Regions from separate parts of the Homo sapiens genome. Here all the other regions are linked to region 3. Evidence: promoter capture Hi-C in 16 types of primary human blood cells and fetal thymus (Javierre and others, 2016). All regions are on one chromosome and are shown on one strand. The core of a region is centred on a gene start or on the middle of the fragment in contact, and the rest is flanking DNA. Distances in the headings are between cores, read along the strand shown. Region 1 overlaps VAV3 (vav guanine nucleotide exchange factor 3). Region 2 overlaps VAV3 (vav guanine nucleotide exchange factor 3). Region 3 holds the start of VAV3 (vav guanine nucleotide exchange factor 3). Region 4 has its middle 21 kb from the start of LINC02785. Region 5 overlaps VAV3 (vav guanine nucleotide exchange factor 3).

Region 1 (3,391 bases), core at 866-3,365, 82 kb before region 3:
TGGCAAAACCTCATCTCTGCTAAAAATACAAAGATTAGCTGGCTGTGGTGGCACACACCTATGGTCCCAGTTACTGGGGAGGCTGAGGCATGATAATCCCTTGAACCTGGGAAATGGAGGTTGCAGTGAGCTGAGATCACCCCACTGTACTCCAGCCTGGGCAACAAAGTGAGATTCTGTCTCCAAAAAAAAAAAAGAAAAGAAAAAAAGCACCAAAGGAAAGCGGAATACTCAGCTTTGCATTTATGATTATTGGTGTTGTAGTGATGTTTCGGTGCTTGCTATGTGTCAAGCTCTATGCTAAATGTTTATGCCATTCAATCCTCACAACAATCCAATCAGAAAAGTTTTAATTTTTTTTTAAACACATACTGAGGCTTAGAGATTTACCAACATTTACATAACTGCTTTTGCCAAAGCAATGGAGTCAGGATTCAAATCCAGACATTCTGGCTACAGGGCCCATATCCTTAACTACTATGTTATATTAACTCCATTTTTGCAGCTTATAGAATTAAATGTTTTTCTTCTTACTAGAGAGATGATGTGGCATAGGAAGACAAGACAAGGACAACCAGGACATTATCATATAATTTAACAAGAAATAATGGGATTTAGACTAGGATAGTAGAAGGAGAGATGGGAAGAACTCCAGGAGATTACATGGAAAAGAAATATTTGGTAATTGATTGACTGTGTGTGGGGACGCAGTGGGAGAGAAAAGAGAAGACCTCAGAATTATAACTGTACCTCTCTCTGCCTTGGGCACTGGAAGGATAGCAGGGCATTCACTGAAAATGGTAACTTAGCAAATTGGGGGACATAGTATGTGAAAAGGAGGCCAGGGAGTCAGTTAATTCTTGTCTTCACATATAAAAACTCCCAGTAATTAGATGCTGCCTAGCCTCTCTCTCAGGTATATCCAGTGAAAAGTGATGTATTCTAACAACAAAGCCATGTGTCTTCAACAACCATGCGTAGCCTCTCTCCCTCTTCAGAAGGGCATGAATAGCTCGCTTATTTCAAGGTGAGGAAGGAAAATGGTAGAAAAGCACTCAATATCAATGCACATAACTTCCGAAGAAGAAAGTTTAACACCATCAAGGTCTAAAACATCCTAAAATTATAAATCAGGCCAAAGCTCTCTGGATTAGAAAATGTTTCATAACCAGGTAGCTACCACAACAGACAAGGCATGAGTGGCTTTTCAAGGTGCAGCCTCCTGTTACCACTTTAATGTTAGCAATATTGACGCTTAAAAAAGGAAACATTTGAAGGTCAAACTGCTAAAGTTCACTACAAAACTCTGAATCGCTCCTTTTCCTCTACCCCTTAAAAGTGTATGGTTTCCTTTTTCTCTATGTGTAAAAGCCATCTTGACTTTTCTCAAAGATATGAATGCAAACAGGATGGCTTCCCTTTTTATTTGAAAAAATAAACACCGACTTCTCCAAAGTTGCTAGGAATAATGGACTAGTGGTGTTAACTGAGGCAATGGAAGAGGAAAAATCTCTACAGCTTATTGTGAGATGAGTTATTTCAGTCCCAAATGAGAAATGACATTTCATGAGAAGGTCGGTGAGTGCTAATAGACCTTCACACAATGTAGATTTTCTAACTTATATTTGATGAGGCAAGGACCACCCAGAGCCAACCTGTGTGTTGAAGAAAGAAGCTCTCAGCATCTCAGAATAAAGAAGTTCTCAGTAGGACACTTGCTATTGAAAGATCGGCCCTGAATTTGAGGGTCTGGCATAATTCAAATTATGAGTGGCCATTATAATAAGATGATTGGCAGTTTCGAAAGGCACAGAAGAGACGACCATGAAACCGATTTACAAACATTAAGGTACAAGAAGAATTCTCCTTCTCTTCTCATCATAACTCCTCCTCTATACCTCTCCAAAGGTCTCAGATCATCCTTTTTTTTAACTGGTAAGGAGGAAGAGGTGTAAGGAATATAATAATATCAAGCTTCTCTCTTACTGGAGTTCCCTATTTCTGTCCCTTTCACCATATCTTCTCTATATCTCTCTTTTAAAATTAGGTGAGCTAAATCTTACATCTCCTAGAAATTTAATAAAAGAATAATTTTTATTTGTATGAGGACCTTATTTGTCCTTTTCCCCCGTGTATCAGTGGGTCCCAACAGAAGGGGCATCATCATCCTCATTCTAAGAAATCATACCTTCAAATATCCCCTGAATTACAAAATAAGTATGCTACATGTGGTATCAGTTTAGGACTGCACAATATGAAGCTTCAAATTATTTTCATACTGATGCTAATATCACAGTAAATGATGACCCTAAAGGACATGCAGAGAGGACATAAATGGAGAAGGGTTGTTCCTTAGCTGTAATCTTGTCATCAGTTCACTAAACCAAAACCTCCCTATTCTCAGCAATTTAAAAGCCAATATTTCTGTTTTGATTATTGTCCAGGCCACAACTCATTTCTAATGGGTAATTTTTTAAGTCATTCGTTCAAAAATACAGTAATTTACCATTTAAAGTTAACAGGTTTTTTTTCACAGTATTCAATGATAATGTACTTTCATGAGTTATATGTAATTATATTGAAATGGCTAAGCTCATAAATGCAGGGCTAAATTGTAAAAACACATGCACCCTCTTTGCTCTGCAGCACCCGGCTCACATCTGTTATGGTAATAACTGTGCTTAACTATAATATATCTGTCTGACTACCTAGTGCCCTAAGAAATAGTAAATATTTGAGAGTAAAGAATACATCTATATTGTCTTTGTATCCCAAAGCTTTTATAGCACATACATGTTTTCAAATAAATTGATGAATGAATCCTGATGCAGTTTATCTCTAGGAAAAATTAAATGCAACGATTCCTTAGTAGTCAGGGAACTCAGTAAAATTTTACATTAAATTGTCATCATATCTTCTTATTTCAATGTTAATGTAGCAATGTGTCTTTTTAAACTTACCTAAGAACATTTTTAGAAGTTATATTAATATTTATAAATAATATCAATAAAGATTTTAAATTATTAGGCAATTACATTCTTAAGCATGATCTTTAGTCTGTGTTTCCTGCCTCTGGTGTGTGTTCAATGGGAAGCTGCCAACTGATTTTCAGGGGCCCTTGGCCAGCAGTCACCATAACACACACACACAAGCCCTCTGCTGCTTTCAACAGCTCTTGTCCTTATAAGAGGAAGCACTGCACCCCTCTCCCTTGGCAGAAACTTAGACTTAGAAACTCAGTTTCAAAGGTTTTTCTGTCAACACCTGCATTAGTCCCTGGACATACAAAAGGAAGACAAGCAGCATCTTTACTCCTCCTTTTGTGTTTTTAGTCTTTGCACTAAAAAACTGAATACCTTGGAAGTGCAGAGGTCAAAGTTAGCCTGGATCA
Region 2 (2,977 bases), core at 259-2,758, 100 kb before region 3:
TTTTCTTAGACTCATGAAGACATGACAACCAAAAGTAATGTCTGAACCTTTATTCAATCATGTCAAATTCAAAGAAACTAGCTATAAAATCCATTGTGGAGAAAACTAGTAAAATTTGATATTTTAAATATCTGGATATTAAATAATACCAGGGAAGTATTATTCACTTTGTTATATGTGATAAAGATATTATGGTTATATAGAAAAATATCCTTATTTTGACGGCTGTACCATTTGAAGTATTTAGGGGACAAATGTCATGATGCCTATCTATATTTACTTTTAAATTGTTCAGCAAAAATAGCGGTATATAAGTATTTATAATAGATAGTAGATGAATCAAATATGGTCAAATGTTAGTTTTTGTTTTTGACAGGGAGTCTCACTCTATCACCCAGGCGAGAATGCAGTGGCATGATCTCGACTCACTGCAGCCTCCACATTCTTGACTCAAGCCATCCTCCTACCTCAATCTTCCAAGTACCTGGGACTACACATGCATGGCACCACACCTGGCTAATTTTTGTATTTTTTTGTAGAGACAGAAATGATAATTTTTCAATAGTAGATATATGAGCGGTGATTGTAGTAGTTTTCTAGGTTTTATATGTTTGGTTATCTCTATAATAATTTAAGTTCTTGGGCTTTTAATTTAGCATTTTCCAAATTACCACTGGGAACAAAGGCTTTAAGCTAGTTCATGAACTCATTTCTGTATTAACCTATTGGGTTTCTTTTTTACTTGACTTCAGGGCTGCTGAGAGATCACTGTAATCCTCAAACCACTTGGTATGATGATAGTGTCCCTTTCTTTAAATGGCTTCTATTCTCTCCTTCGATTTTAAATTTCTTAACCTTTAACTGTGCTGTTTCATATGTGTTATCCTAATCAGACATTTCAAATTACCCACAGAAGTTAGAAAGAAATAATCAAAAAAGAAAGAACTGAGGAGACGACGTTTATTTCATTTTAAGAAGAGAAGCCAAGCACAGTGGCGTGCACTTGCAGTCCCGGCTACTCAGGAGGCTGAGGCACAAGGACTGCTTGTGCCCAGGACTTTGAGTCCAGCCTGGGCAACACAGTGAGACCCTATCTTTTACAAAAAAAGAAGACAACAAAGAAGAAAAGACTTACAGAAACATAACAATCTTCAAATATTTGAACGATTGTCCTACAGAAGGTGTAGAAATTAATTCTGTGCTGCTCTAAAACCAATGGAAGAAAATTTAGAAAGATAGATTATGCTTTATTATTAGTGATGAATCTCTAGATAATTCATTATCCATAACTGGATCCATAATTGGAACTGTTGCTACTTAAGAAATTTCTGTTACATCTCTAGGAATTGTTCAAATACTGCAGAAGGGATTCCAACCATGAATCCAAAACAGTATAGAAAAAAAGGAATATATGCTTTTGATTGCTTATCTTTCTACACGTCTATGTATTTGGAGAATCTTGGGTGCAGTCAACTGACCAAATTCCAAGTAAACAAAGCTAAAAATACTTCAACAATTTTTTTGTAAAAGCCAACGCTAATTAATATCATCTCCCTTTCATCATTATACTTCATAGTAACTTTGCTAAAATTCTAAATTGCTATCTCCCCAAGAAACTGTACTTTATCATCTGGCAGCCAATAAATTCTAATTTTTCTGCTGCTTCTTCCCAAAAGCCTAAGGCTATTAGGAAAAATCAGCAGTGATTTTGGTAAAGAATCCTTGTTAAACTTTATAGATATAAGGAGCAGATGCATAGCTAATTCTAACATGAATCTAGCCTTCTATGTATGTTTTTATTACTCTACCCAATCCATATCCAATGCTATCAATCATCATTAAAATTTGACCTAGACTGACCAATAAAAATAGTGTCCAGTGTCCACCCATATCCGAATATAACCATTCTAGATTGATCATCTTGTCTAAGATGAATTATAAATATGCAGCTACTTTAAAAGACAACTCAAAGAGTGTAAATGATTCAGCACACAATCTATAAGGCACCTGCTTACTCAGAAGCAGCAAGCAGCATCCTTCATTTCCTCTACACAGAAACAAAGAATGAGAGTAGCAAGGTAAAGCCTATACCTAAGGTCACCAAGCACATCTCTGTGCAAAATTAATTGTGTATACACATGCATACATACTTCAGTGGGGAGTGTTCTGAAAGATTTAAAAACCATTCATTTTTCTAACCTAATGATTTCTGACTGCTCTACGCACTGGCCTGTCCTGACACCACTGGTCCTCAGACACTATGTTGATTTAGCAGAACTTTTCATGTCCAAAGAGCATTATAATTGGCATTGAGGCAAACCAGAGAAAGGCCCATATTCAACTAATATTTCTTCAATGGAGTTCTCCAAAGACACAGGTGCTTTAAGTGGAAAACAAGTGACTCAGAAACTAAACTCTATCCAGAGGAAGCCTGCGCAGCCGGACTCCACACAGCTGCAGTGACTGCCAAGCATTGTTTCCTGTAGTTGTTTGGTGCTCATACCACTACTGGTGCACACTTCCTCTGCCTAATCCTGTGCAAATGAGAGCATTCAGCCAGTTCCACCCCCACACTACCCCTCTCACTGAGCATGGGAAGCAAACACCAGCCTCCTTTATTCCTACAGATGTGCATAAGCCATTAAAAAAAAGAAGACACAGAAAATAAACATGGAAAGTGCCATCCTCCTTTTCTAGGAGATCTTGTTGATAGGAAATACACAGGCACAACAGTCAAAGGCCAAGAGTTCTGCCTCACTGTTGTTTGTGTAGACAAGTAAATTGACTATTAATATATCACCCACTGGAATTAACCAATTCTCCTTACATATTTCTCATCCATCATATTTACAATTTATTGTAAGCAAATGAAGACTCAATGACCTCCATATGTAACTTGGATAAACTACATCTTACCCTTAAGCCAATGTGACAAGGTCAAGGATTTCTGAACACAGCTCAGATAGGATACGGCCCA
Region 3 (3,298 bases), core at 339-2,838:
TACATACTTATTAAATCATATAAAGTCCGTTCCTTCTTAAAAGGCGCTGCTCTGGTTGCTAAGTAGCTGAGGCTCTGCGTCATAGAGGATTAGTGCTGAAATGTGTCAGGGAGAGGGCTCTGTCCTCTCCCTTTTAAGTTGAAAGCAGTTTGGTTTTTTGTTTTGTTTTAACATTCTGAAAGAGAAAGAGGCTCTGAACCGAGTTTAACATCCTTCTGTACAAAAATTTTCCGACAGGACAAATAAACTACTCTTCCACTGAACTGTGACTTTTGAGCTGACTCTAGGGTGCACCCAACCTTCCAGAGGTGTCTGGCTTAACCCTCAAAGAGGCAGCTCCAGCCCCAGGAGCCGACCGGCACCACAGCACCTGAGCAGGGCACTGCAGGAAGGAAAGCGGAATCTCTAGTGAAACTTCTCATTTCCTGTCGCTGCTGAGAGAGGCTGGACTCGCTCCTTCTCACATGGCTTAGGAAGAGCTGTAAACGGGAGCTTGCCGGCTGGCCACCAGCTCAGGGGCCCTGGGGGCGGCCTCCGGGTTCTGCTCCCTGTTCTTCCCTTTGACCAATGTCACTCCTGGACAGATAACGGGACCAAACGCCCTTCACTTCCTCGAGTCCTCATGTATGTCATGGTTCCTCTTTTAGGAAAACATGAGTACAAGACGCAAAGCAAAAGAAGAGACTAAAGGCAAATTACCCCATCACCTCGTTTCGTCCCTCCCCTTCGTTATTATAGAAGAGCTTGATCAAATTCCCTTTGTCGCGCCACACACACGCAGAGTAGGTGAAGGGCACCCTAAGACAACTTATTTCTTTCCCGCCTCACAGAAAGCCTTTACGAAATCCTCACACCATCTCCGGACGCAAAGCTTTCGCATTCAGCTTGAGGAGCTAAACCATTTCAAGCCAAGGTAGGAAACGCCAAAGTGGTGCCGAAGTGGTCCCAAAGCAGAAGGCTGGGAAGCAGGGCAAGCTCAGCGCACCTAGACGTTTGCATTTACACAAAGAAATTAGCCGCATGATTAATGGGAGCTGCCGGCTGGAGGCGGGGCGCCCGTGCCGGCCTCCTCACCTGGGACATCTGCGGCCTCAGGTTGATCTCCTTCAGGTTGATGGAGTGCGCCCGGAGGTTGTTAAGCAGCTGGCAGAGCAGGACTCCATCGCGGAGGGTCTGCGCAAGGTCGAACACCTGAGCCGAGTCCCAGGTCACCCGGTGGTTGGTGGGCAGCACCTTGCAATGGATGAGCCACTGCGCGCACTGCTTCCACGGCTCCATGCCCGACGGCTCCGGGACGCGGCTGGGCCGGGGCGGGCGGCAAGGATGCGGCCGCCGCCGCCGCCGCCGCGGTTCCTCCGCGCCCCGCCGACGCCAACAGCCGCCGGCCCTTTCCCCGCGCGGGATCGAGGGAGCAGGAGCCGCGGCTGACGGGTCGCGGGCGCCGCGCTAGGCTCGGCTCCGGTCCCGGCCCGGGTGCGCCGCGACCCGGCCGCCGCTGCAGCGAGTCCCGCGCGCTCTCCGTGCGCCCCGGCCGGCTCGGCGGCGGCTGCCGCGCACAGGCTTCCGACTCCAGCGCCCGGCCCGCCACTGAGCATGCCCAGCACGCCGGCCGGTCTCGCTGCGGTCCGCAAGTCCCCAGACGCGCGGGTGGGAGCGCGCCGGCGGCCGGGGCTGGGGTCTGTGGCCGAGGGCGGGGCGCGGGGGAGGGGCCGGCGGAGGGGGGCGGCGGCCAGAAAGGGGATCCCGCGCCCCCGCCTGCAGCCTTGCGGGGCTCACGCAGCCCCCGGCGTCCTGGGGTCTTCTCTCGGGGCGGCTTCCCGGCTTTGCGGGGAGTGTGGCTGAATACTGTAATACGATGGGGTCCCCCAGGACCCCCTAAACAACAAATGCTCAAAGGAGCGACGGATTAATTGGGGCACCCAGACTCCCCAGAGCAATGAAAAAAGTGCCTAGAGCATCAGTAGAGCACGGCGCTGAAAGTTTTAGAGATCGTCGCCCCCTCGCCCCTTGCAGCTCTATCCCCTCCATTCTCTATAGCTGATTCCTCAGCCTATTCCTCCTAGTTGCCCCTAGTGGTGTTTTGGCACCCTCAAAGTGAGTGAGAGTGCGTGTGTGGAGACGCCTGCGGAAACCGCCCCGATCCCTGAGCCTATTTCCTCGCGAGGTGATTTTCACTTGGAGCTGGTTTGCCCCTGCACTGTCAGGCTCGGAACTGTTTGCCGTTGCTGTTCTGGCCCTTTTGCTGACCCCACAAAAACCTGCTTGAGAAAGGCCTGTGCCACGGTGCTAGACTGCGCATGCGTCGGCGACTGGCGGCCGGGTTTGAGAGCAAAGCGCGTTAGCCCTGGGCAGCTCCTGCCGGGCTGTTCTGGGATCCTTAGTGAAAGTTGGAACTTGACCCCAGAACTTTTGCGCAGTGCACAAGCAGTGCATTCGTGTTTCTTAAGTAAATCTTTTGGAGACTCTAAACCCTACCCCTTTTACTCCCACTGCACACTGCCCCTCAAAACCACAATTAATGTTTAAATTATTTGTGGCAAGATATTGCCACAGTGAATTATTGCTGTTCGATAGGAATGTGGTCCTTCGTCACCCTTTTGAGATGCATTCACTTAAAATTAGAAAATAGGCCGGGCGCGGTGGCTCACGCCTGTAATCCCAGCACTTTGGGAGGCCGAGGCGGGCGGATCACGAGGTCAGGAGATCGAGACCATCCTGGCTAACACGGTGAAAACCCGTCTCTACTAAAAATACAAAAAATTGGCCGGGCGTGGTGGCACGCACCTGTAGTCCCAGCTGCTCGGGAGGCTGAGGTAGGAGAATCGCTTGAACCCATGAGGCGGAGGTTGCGGTGAGCTGAGATCCAGCCACTGCACTCCAGCCTGGACGACAGAGCCAGACTCTGTCTCAAAAAACAAACAAACAAACAAACAAAAAGATGGGAGTTTGGATAATTTAATTGTATTATATTTCTGTAGCCCAAATTTTTTATTACGAACCATGCTTTATAAGCAGGCCAAAATATTATTTTTAAAAGAATGATCTGTTCAGGATAGTGATTGCGTCCTTTTTCGTTTGGCTGTGACAAGGATAGCACACTGTTTACACTCAGCGCTGAACAATAAATCAGCCTGAGGATTTCCTTTCCTCACACGCATCCTTCCCTAGCAATTTCCTCTTGTGTTCAATGCGGATTCCATCAATAGCACGACATTTTCTAGGCCATAATTTTGGCAAATAAATCATACTAATCTCTACATACCTTTAGAAGCAAAATCCAACACATTTGAATCACCAT
Region 4 (3,370 bases), core at 399-2,898, 120 kb after region 3:
ATGAATGTAGTCTGAAGCCAGCCACAGTCTTCTATGGCTGTGGAATTGCTACATATCTTTTTCTGTTTACTGAGACAGGATCAAGACAGAGACTTCCTGACAAACAAAAGAGCTTGCCTGAGGAGAGAAGTAATTGCTTATTTATCTCTTAAACACAGTACTGAGGGCAAGCACAGATGGCTCCCTAACTCTCCCTGTGCCTTTAGGAAAGAAGACAAAATGTCACAAGTCTAGAGCCAAAATACCATAGGATGCTTTAAGAAGGTTAAAAAAAAAAAAGGGTCCCAGGTAATAACCAAAAAATCAAAATGACAAACATCTCTCATGGGTAAGACACAGAATTCTTCTTAAGGATGTGATAATGTTGGGAAAATGACCCTACGTCCCCTGGTAAATAATTTCTAACCTCTCTATAGCATCTCCTCTGAAACAGGAGGGCCTTTGAGATACAACTCTGTCCCCACCCTCACCCCACCATATTTACTGTTCTTTTGAAAGGATATAAAAGCTCTTCCTTTGACCTCCAAATACTCAGAGGATTAGGGAAAACCCTTCCTGGCAATTATTAGTATTATAGCTATCATTATGTTTTGCTGAAAAGGAAATATGAAAAATATATTTAATAAAAGATATTTTAAGAGAAAACAAAAAACAGTTTAGAAAACTAAACTGTCCTATCTAATGTGACATTCAGGGGCTCAAAAGTAGAGTGTTCAAGCAATTCTAAGCCTTGATTGTGTTCTCTTACACACCATTTAAAAGAACAGCCACAGGAGAACATCTTCTGAATTATTTTAGGTAACTATTGACAACCCTTTGCAAAGCCGCAGAGGCTGCTGGTGTTGGTGTAAACCAGAGTGCCCTTTAAACCAGTAAATTCCACTTGTAGGAAATTACCCTACAGAAATCATCACTGTACACAAAGCTGCTTATAGTAAGATATTCACCTCATCATTATTCATGATAGTGGCAAAACTGGAAATAAATATCTCATAATAGAGAATCAGCAACATATACCATGCAGCTATGAAATGATGCCATAAAATATTTATTGTTATAAAAAGATGTTCGTGATGTTAAGGAAAAACATGAAGGTTATAAAAGAGATGATTTAGTATGATCCGAATTTTATTTTTAAATGAATTATTACCATAGAGTACAAAATGCTTTCCTGGGCAAGTGCTGGCCCTGATTCAGGAGGCTGGTGGATTTGCAGGCCCCTCACCATATACCTATTTGCATTTCAGCTTGAGAATTACAGAGTCTCTGGCCACAGTATTTATGCGCCCTAAATCGAGAAAGAGAGAAAAGACTTTTAGAAAATCCCAAATACTTGTGAGATTCAAAGTTTTTGTAAATTGTCTGAAGGATTGGAGTGAGAGGGCAGACCAAAAGAGTAGTGAGAATTCTGAATGGAATTCCCCCTGTGGGGAGGAGGAATCAGGAGTAGTAGACAGGTCTTGGCCTCAGGGTTAAGGATCAAAGGGAGCCTGGTTCTAGGTCAGGATAGTGGCCTCTCTCAGAACTCTCCCCAACTCAGCTGTCCTGGAGACAGATTTGTATCAGAAGAGCTTTGGCCCTCAGGGGCCAGGGCCTATTTCTGTGAAGCTCAGAAAGTAAGTCAGACAAGTACTCCTTCATTCTAGATGTCCCAACACTGTCGCCTGCCCCAGCAATGGTGGTCGATGCAGCAAGTAATAGGGCCAGCAGGAGGTGGGGTCCAGCTGTCCAGATCCCTGAGGGGATGCCAGGGCCTCTGCAAAGTTGGCAGTGATACCAGCTTGTCCCAGTGGTCGGGGCAAGGGCCACTTCGCCATTGACACCAGACTCACTGGAGCACAAACAGCTTTGCTTTCGAGAAAGAGCCACTCTCACCCTGTGAGAGTGACATTTGAATCTCGGAATTAATAGACAACATCAACATTTTTGTTCTGCAACTTCAGAGCCAGCTATTCCCAGCTAGTGATAAACTCTCTGGGGAACTGGCCCCGTGACCAGTGGTGGCCTCAAGAAGGTGTCTGAGTTCCAACACTGCCTACAGATACAAAGATCAGGACAACTGTTAGGAATAAATGAGTGGCCTCTGCAATTCTCAGAAACACCAGTGGAAGAAAGAGGCTGGGAAAAGCTGGCCTTCCTGCTAATTTGGCTAAAGAGAGGTCTGGATGTCATAAGTGTCAATGTAAGCATGGCCAAGTCTAGGGAAACTTGCCTATCTACACTAGTTATACTTGCATGGGGGATGGTGCAGGGGGAAGGGGAGAAATAGTGGACAGCCTGTCCAGAATGATGATGAATCTTTCTCCAGTACACACTTGCCCCACAGACTACGTACTATATCTAGAACAAAAATTATCTGATGTTTGGCCTGCACTGTTATTGTACAGAAAAAAGTATGGATGCACTCAGAAAAGGGTGCCAGTGAAACTGAAATTAAAGGGACATTAAAAACTGCTTTGAAATTTTTACTTATAAGAGTTTCAAAAGAAACAAAAAGGCAAATTTAGCCTGGTATTCTGGAGGGCTTAATTGTGACAAGCGACCATAATTCCGAAATCATCTTATGATAGTCCCCTGAGCCCCTCCCCTTGTAAGCATTATGTGGACTGGGATTCCATGCCCAAGTCCAAATGCTTCTGTCTACTTGGGGTATGGGAAGGTGGAATCTCCTGAAGAAGGGGTAGGGATAAGGAAGAGATGGTTACGGCAGCAATTGCATGCCTGGATTGGGGATGGATGTGTAAGGGGTGGCCCACGAATGGAGTACAACCTCAGCCCATCTAAAGTACTTGCCCAATACTGCAGGTGAGAGGCTAGGGACTTTCTGGATTTTTTTTCTTGTCCTCGTCCTGAGTGCAGATCCTGCCAAAAGACAGAACCTGCTTCCTCTCCTAAAGCTGTCACAACTGGAACACCTTGTTTAAATCTTGGAAACTTTTATTTTGAAGTGTGGGAAAAGAAACTGAGGAAGAAGATCAAAGCAAGGAGTAACATTATGCTCTTCTGAAGTGTAATACAGTCTGTGTCAGGGAAAAGGCATAAAATAGAGAGACAGGAAACTTCACCCTGAAAATAACACCATAGAAAGAGTACTCTGCTTAACATTAACAGCTGATTAGAGCTAATGATTAAGTGTATCATCTCTAGGTGACCATGTGCTTTATTGTTCAAACCAAGATAACTTAGGCATGAAATGGAGTCCTACTAATTAATATTTACACCTGAGTAATAGGCATAAAGCCAGGACTGTCCCAGACCAACCAAAATGCATAGTCACCTAATCATCTCTAAATCCTATAGTTCGTATGCTTCTTCTATTGGGTTACGGAAGAAAAACAAGGCAAAATTTCAATGTAATATGAACTATGGC
Region 5 (3,073 bases), core at 435-2,934, 64 kb before region 3:
GTGAAGGGCTACAAAGGCACAGATGATGGCACAGTTAACTACACATTGAGGGAAGGTTTAAGAAACAAGGAGCCAGCCACATGTGAGCTCCGTAGGACAGGAAAGAGAATGAATTCATTGGAATTTTCTAAGGCAGAATGATGTATCAAGGCTGAGTGAAGTCCTTTGCAGTGTTACTTCATCTAATCTTCAGGATTATTTTATGAAATAGGTATTGTTCCCATTCCCGCCTGGGTATTGTTCTAGGTGAGGTACGTGTGGTTAGAGAATGAAGTAACATGCCTAAAGCCAAACTAATAATAACTGGTGAATTAGGTTTTGAAAGCAGATCAGAAGTCTTACTTGGCTGCCTCTGCTTTTCCCAGAACAGATAAGCAATAAACATAAGGCTTACTTTGATCTGTATCTTAGCTGGGTGGCTCTTTAGTTTCCTGAAACCTGACCCCTTCAAGAATCTCCTTAGGTCTTTCAACTATTCTTTCTCCATAAAATTCCTTTTTTTATATTCATACACTTTCAGCATACTTAATATATATCAGCAGGCATTTGTAGCTCACTAAAATTATCTCTTCTTCTTCACTTTTCAAGGAACTCAATCCTGCACTAAACACATTACAAAGTAAAGCTCAAGGCTCAAGGTGTGATATTTTCCATAATTTGAAACAGTTACACATGGATAGAAATACATTTGCTACATAGACTACAAGCTTCGACACTTAGGAAACCTACTGAAAATTAACAGGATATGAGAAGTGAAAACGTGGTACAGTGTAGCCGCAAAGTATATCCATAGTATACTTTGTAGCCACACGTCAGGAGGAAGTTACCTTTATGCACCCCTTACCACTGCATGCAAATTTGATATTTTCTCTACATGCTTTTGGAAAATGTGCTAATAACTAAATCATCAACACAGTACTTGCAAATTGTTTTTAGGCCTTCAACTCTTAACAGGGAGAACATGAGAAGTTTCTCTTCCACGTGCAAAGTGAAATGTTACACCTTATAAAGTCTAGACTTTGAGAAGGCCATACCATATCAGACCCATATTCAATCCACTAAATCTGCTGTCAAGATCATTGTAAACCATGAGAGCATGTTGATAAGTGCAGTCCATTTACAGAGGGATCACTGCCTGTAAACCACAACTGAAGCATGCTAAAATAAGCAGTGTGATTGATACTGTATTTTTGTAAATGGTCCTATAAATGATCTTCTGAAATAGCTATCCTCACCAGGACATGGAGAAGATATGCTCAGTTAACCGAGGTTATTGCATCACAATAGGGACTTTGTGGTCTCTGAACTTAACAGACATATCTTATACAAAACTATTTGTGGTAGTGGTGGTAGTGGTGCATAATTTTCAATTATACAAGAAAATAGTGTCCACAAGTTATTTTTTTACTCACTCAGTCTTCAGTTGTTAATGAATGCATTTCCTTACCTTGTATATTTTACGTAAATAAGATTTTTATAAAGAGACTCAGTAATAACTGTGTCACCCACTTCCACATAAAATCAAACAATTGGCAATAAGATATGCCAGACTGTACTTACTAAAGATTACTGGACTGTAAATATAAATCGGACCACCATGGAAAGATATGGCTATAAATGCTGACAGTATAGCAAGGGAAAAATAATTTACACCAGCTGGGGAGCTGCTATGTCCCAGGTATTGTAGCTGACAATTTACCTATGTGATTAAAAAGCACTAGGAAGCAAATAATTTCTGGCCTGTGTCCCATAACCTACTAGTTTAAGATTATTGGTTGGTGGTTCCTAAATTATACACCAAGGTATCCTGGAACACCACAGCAAACTCAGAGACACTGCAGGATATTTTAAATTTTCACCAAAAAAATCACAAGAATATTCAGCATCTGATACTGCATGAATTACTAGCTCAAATTACTGTGTAGTTTTAACATTAGATCCCACTAAGTTCCTTTTAATGGTGTATCTTTGTGAAGCTGGATATTCAGCAGATGCAGTGGTTAACAACTAAACATGGTACAACAATCAATGTAAAACAAAAAATGAGGGTGTGGTGGTGTGTAATCTTATTCCAAGATTTGAGAAGTTATGTAGTGCCCAACAGGCACACACATCCCATTAGTAATAATTGTGGGTATTTAAGAATAAAATAAAAATAAAAATATTTTTCCTTTCAATGTACTTGTATTATTTTCTTTCAACCAACTACTATGTTGTTGGGACATAAATATTTATTAAATTGCTTAGAGATAACTACTTAAAAACAAAACTGGGCTGGAGAGGGTGGTTCACGCCTGTAATCCCAGCACTTTGGGAGGCCAAGGCGGGTGGATCACCTGAGGTCAGCAGTTCGAGATCAGCCTGGCCAACATGGTGAAACCCCGTCTCTACTAAAAATACAAAAATTAGCCACGCATGGTGGCATGCACCTGTAATCCCAGCTACTCGGGAGGCTGAGGGAGGAGAATCGCTTGAACCCAGGAGGCGGAGGTTGCAGTTAGCCAAGATTGTGCCACTGCACTCTGGCCTTGACTACAAGAACAAAACTCCATCTCAAAAAAAAAAACAAAAAAAACAACAACAAAAACTGTTATTGTTTTGGCCTGCAAAATAAAAAAATAAAAAAAAATTCAGAGAAATATTAAGCATGCCTTAAACTAAGAAAGCTTAAGAACTTCTGCTAAAGATGAATTCTAACTTTCCAAGCTAAAGGACAGGAGGCTAGACCAAGGGTCTCTACAGACTTTGCCTAGTTTTCTGTGCTAAGTTTCTAAAGTGATTAAAAGGCCATCTGTGATTGAATGTACAATATCTTTTTACATTATCAGTGTAACAGATGGAGATGTAATTGTTTCAATTTTTTTTAATCTTACATTGACTTTATTCATCTTCCATTCTGTGTCATTTGTCTACATATGATGATTGCTTTGTAAGCAATTATATAATGTTTCACATTCTGGAAGAATAACGCATCTATTTTTGGTACCATCCCCTGTTTTCTGCCCTTTCACTATTGCCATGCACCTAAGTACCGCTAGATAGTCTTATGTAGGAGTTTTTTAGGTAATTTTCT

Evidence for each region. The method cuts DNA at HindIII sites, captures the fragments that hold promoters and counts their contacts. A CHiCAGO score of 5 or more calls a contact.
Region 1: a fragment that was not itself captured here is called in contact with the fragment with the promoter of VAV3 in region 3 in 12 of 17 cell types (monocytes, naive B cells, total B cells and 9 more); the score reaches 9.1 in monocytes.
Region 2: a contact is called between a fragment that was not itself captured here and the fragment with the promoter of VAV3 in region 3, in 14 of 17 cell types (naive B cells, total B cells, monocytes and 11 more). The highest score is 11.1, in naive B cells.
Region 4: a fragment that was not itself captured here is called in contact with the fragment with the promoter of VAV3 in region 3 in 12 of 17 cell types (activated CD4 T cells, naive CD4 T cells, megakaryocytes and 9 more); the score reaches 9.2 in activated CD4 T cells.
Region 5: a contact is called between a fragment that was not itself captured here and the fragment with the promoter of VAV3 in region 3, in 4 of 17 cell types (total B cells, naive B cells, total CD8 T cells and 1 more). The highest score is 7.0, in total B cells.

What each region holds. Positions count from the first base shown.
Region 1 is chr1:107,880,613-107,884,003 of GRCh38, forward strand. The region is part of intron 1 of VAV3 (vav guanine nucleotide exchange factor 3); the gene reads right to left. Among named protein-coding and RNA genes, the nearest start is that of MIR7852, 15 kb to the right of the region's middle. The HindIII fragment of the contact is 286 bases long and covers 1,973-2,258 here.
Region 2 is chr1:107,859,768-107,862,744 of GRCh38, forward strand. All of the region lies in intron 2 of VAV3 (vav guanine nucleotide exchange factor 3), which reads right to left. Among named protein-coding and RNA genes, the nearest start is that of MIR7852, 36 kb to the right of the region's middle. The HindIII fragment of the contact is 3,279 bases long and covers 1-2,977 here.
Region 3 is chr1:107,963,592-107,966,889 of GRCh38, forward strand. It overlaps VAV3 (vav guanine nucleotide exchange factor 3), which reads right to left and starts at 1,589. Exons shown (of 27, transcript NM_006113.5): 1 at 1,075-1,589. The coding sequence starts at 1,278. It overlaps VAV3-AS1 (VAV3 antisense RNA 1), which reads left to right and starts at 852. Exons shown (of 3, transcript NR_046653.1): 1 at 852-913. RefSeq lists enhancers at 600-729, 2,076-2,370, 2,306-2,375. The HindIII fragment of the contact is 4,630 bases long and covers 870-3,298 here.
Region 4 is chr1:108,083,551-108,086,920 of GRCh38, forward strand. No RefSeq gene overlaps it. Among named protein-coding and RNA genes, the nearest start is that of LINC02785, 21 kb to the left of the region's middle. The HindIII fragment of the contact is 6,284 bases long and covers 1-3,370 here.
Region 5 is chr1:107,899,489-107,902,561 of GRCh38, forward strand. The region is part of intron 1 of VAV3 (vav guanine nucleotide exchange factor 3); the gene reads right to left. Among named protein-coding and RNA genes, the nearest start is that of MIR7852, 3.8 kb to the left of the region's middle. The HindIII fragment of the contact is 1,959 bases long and covers 706-2,664 here.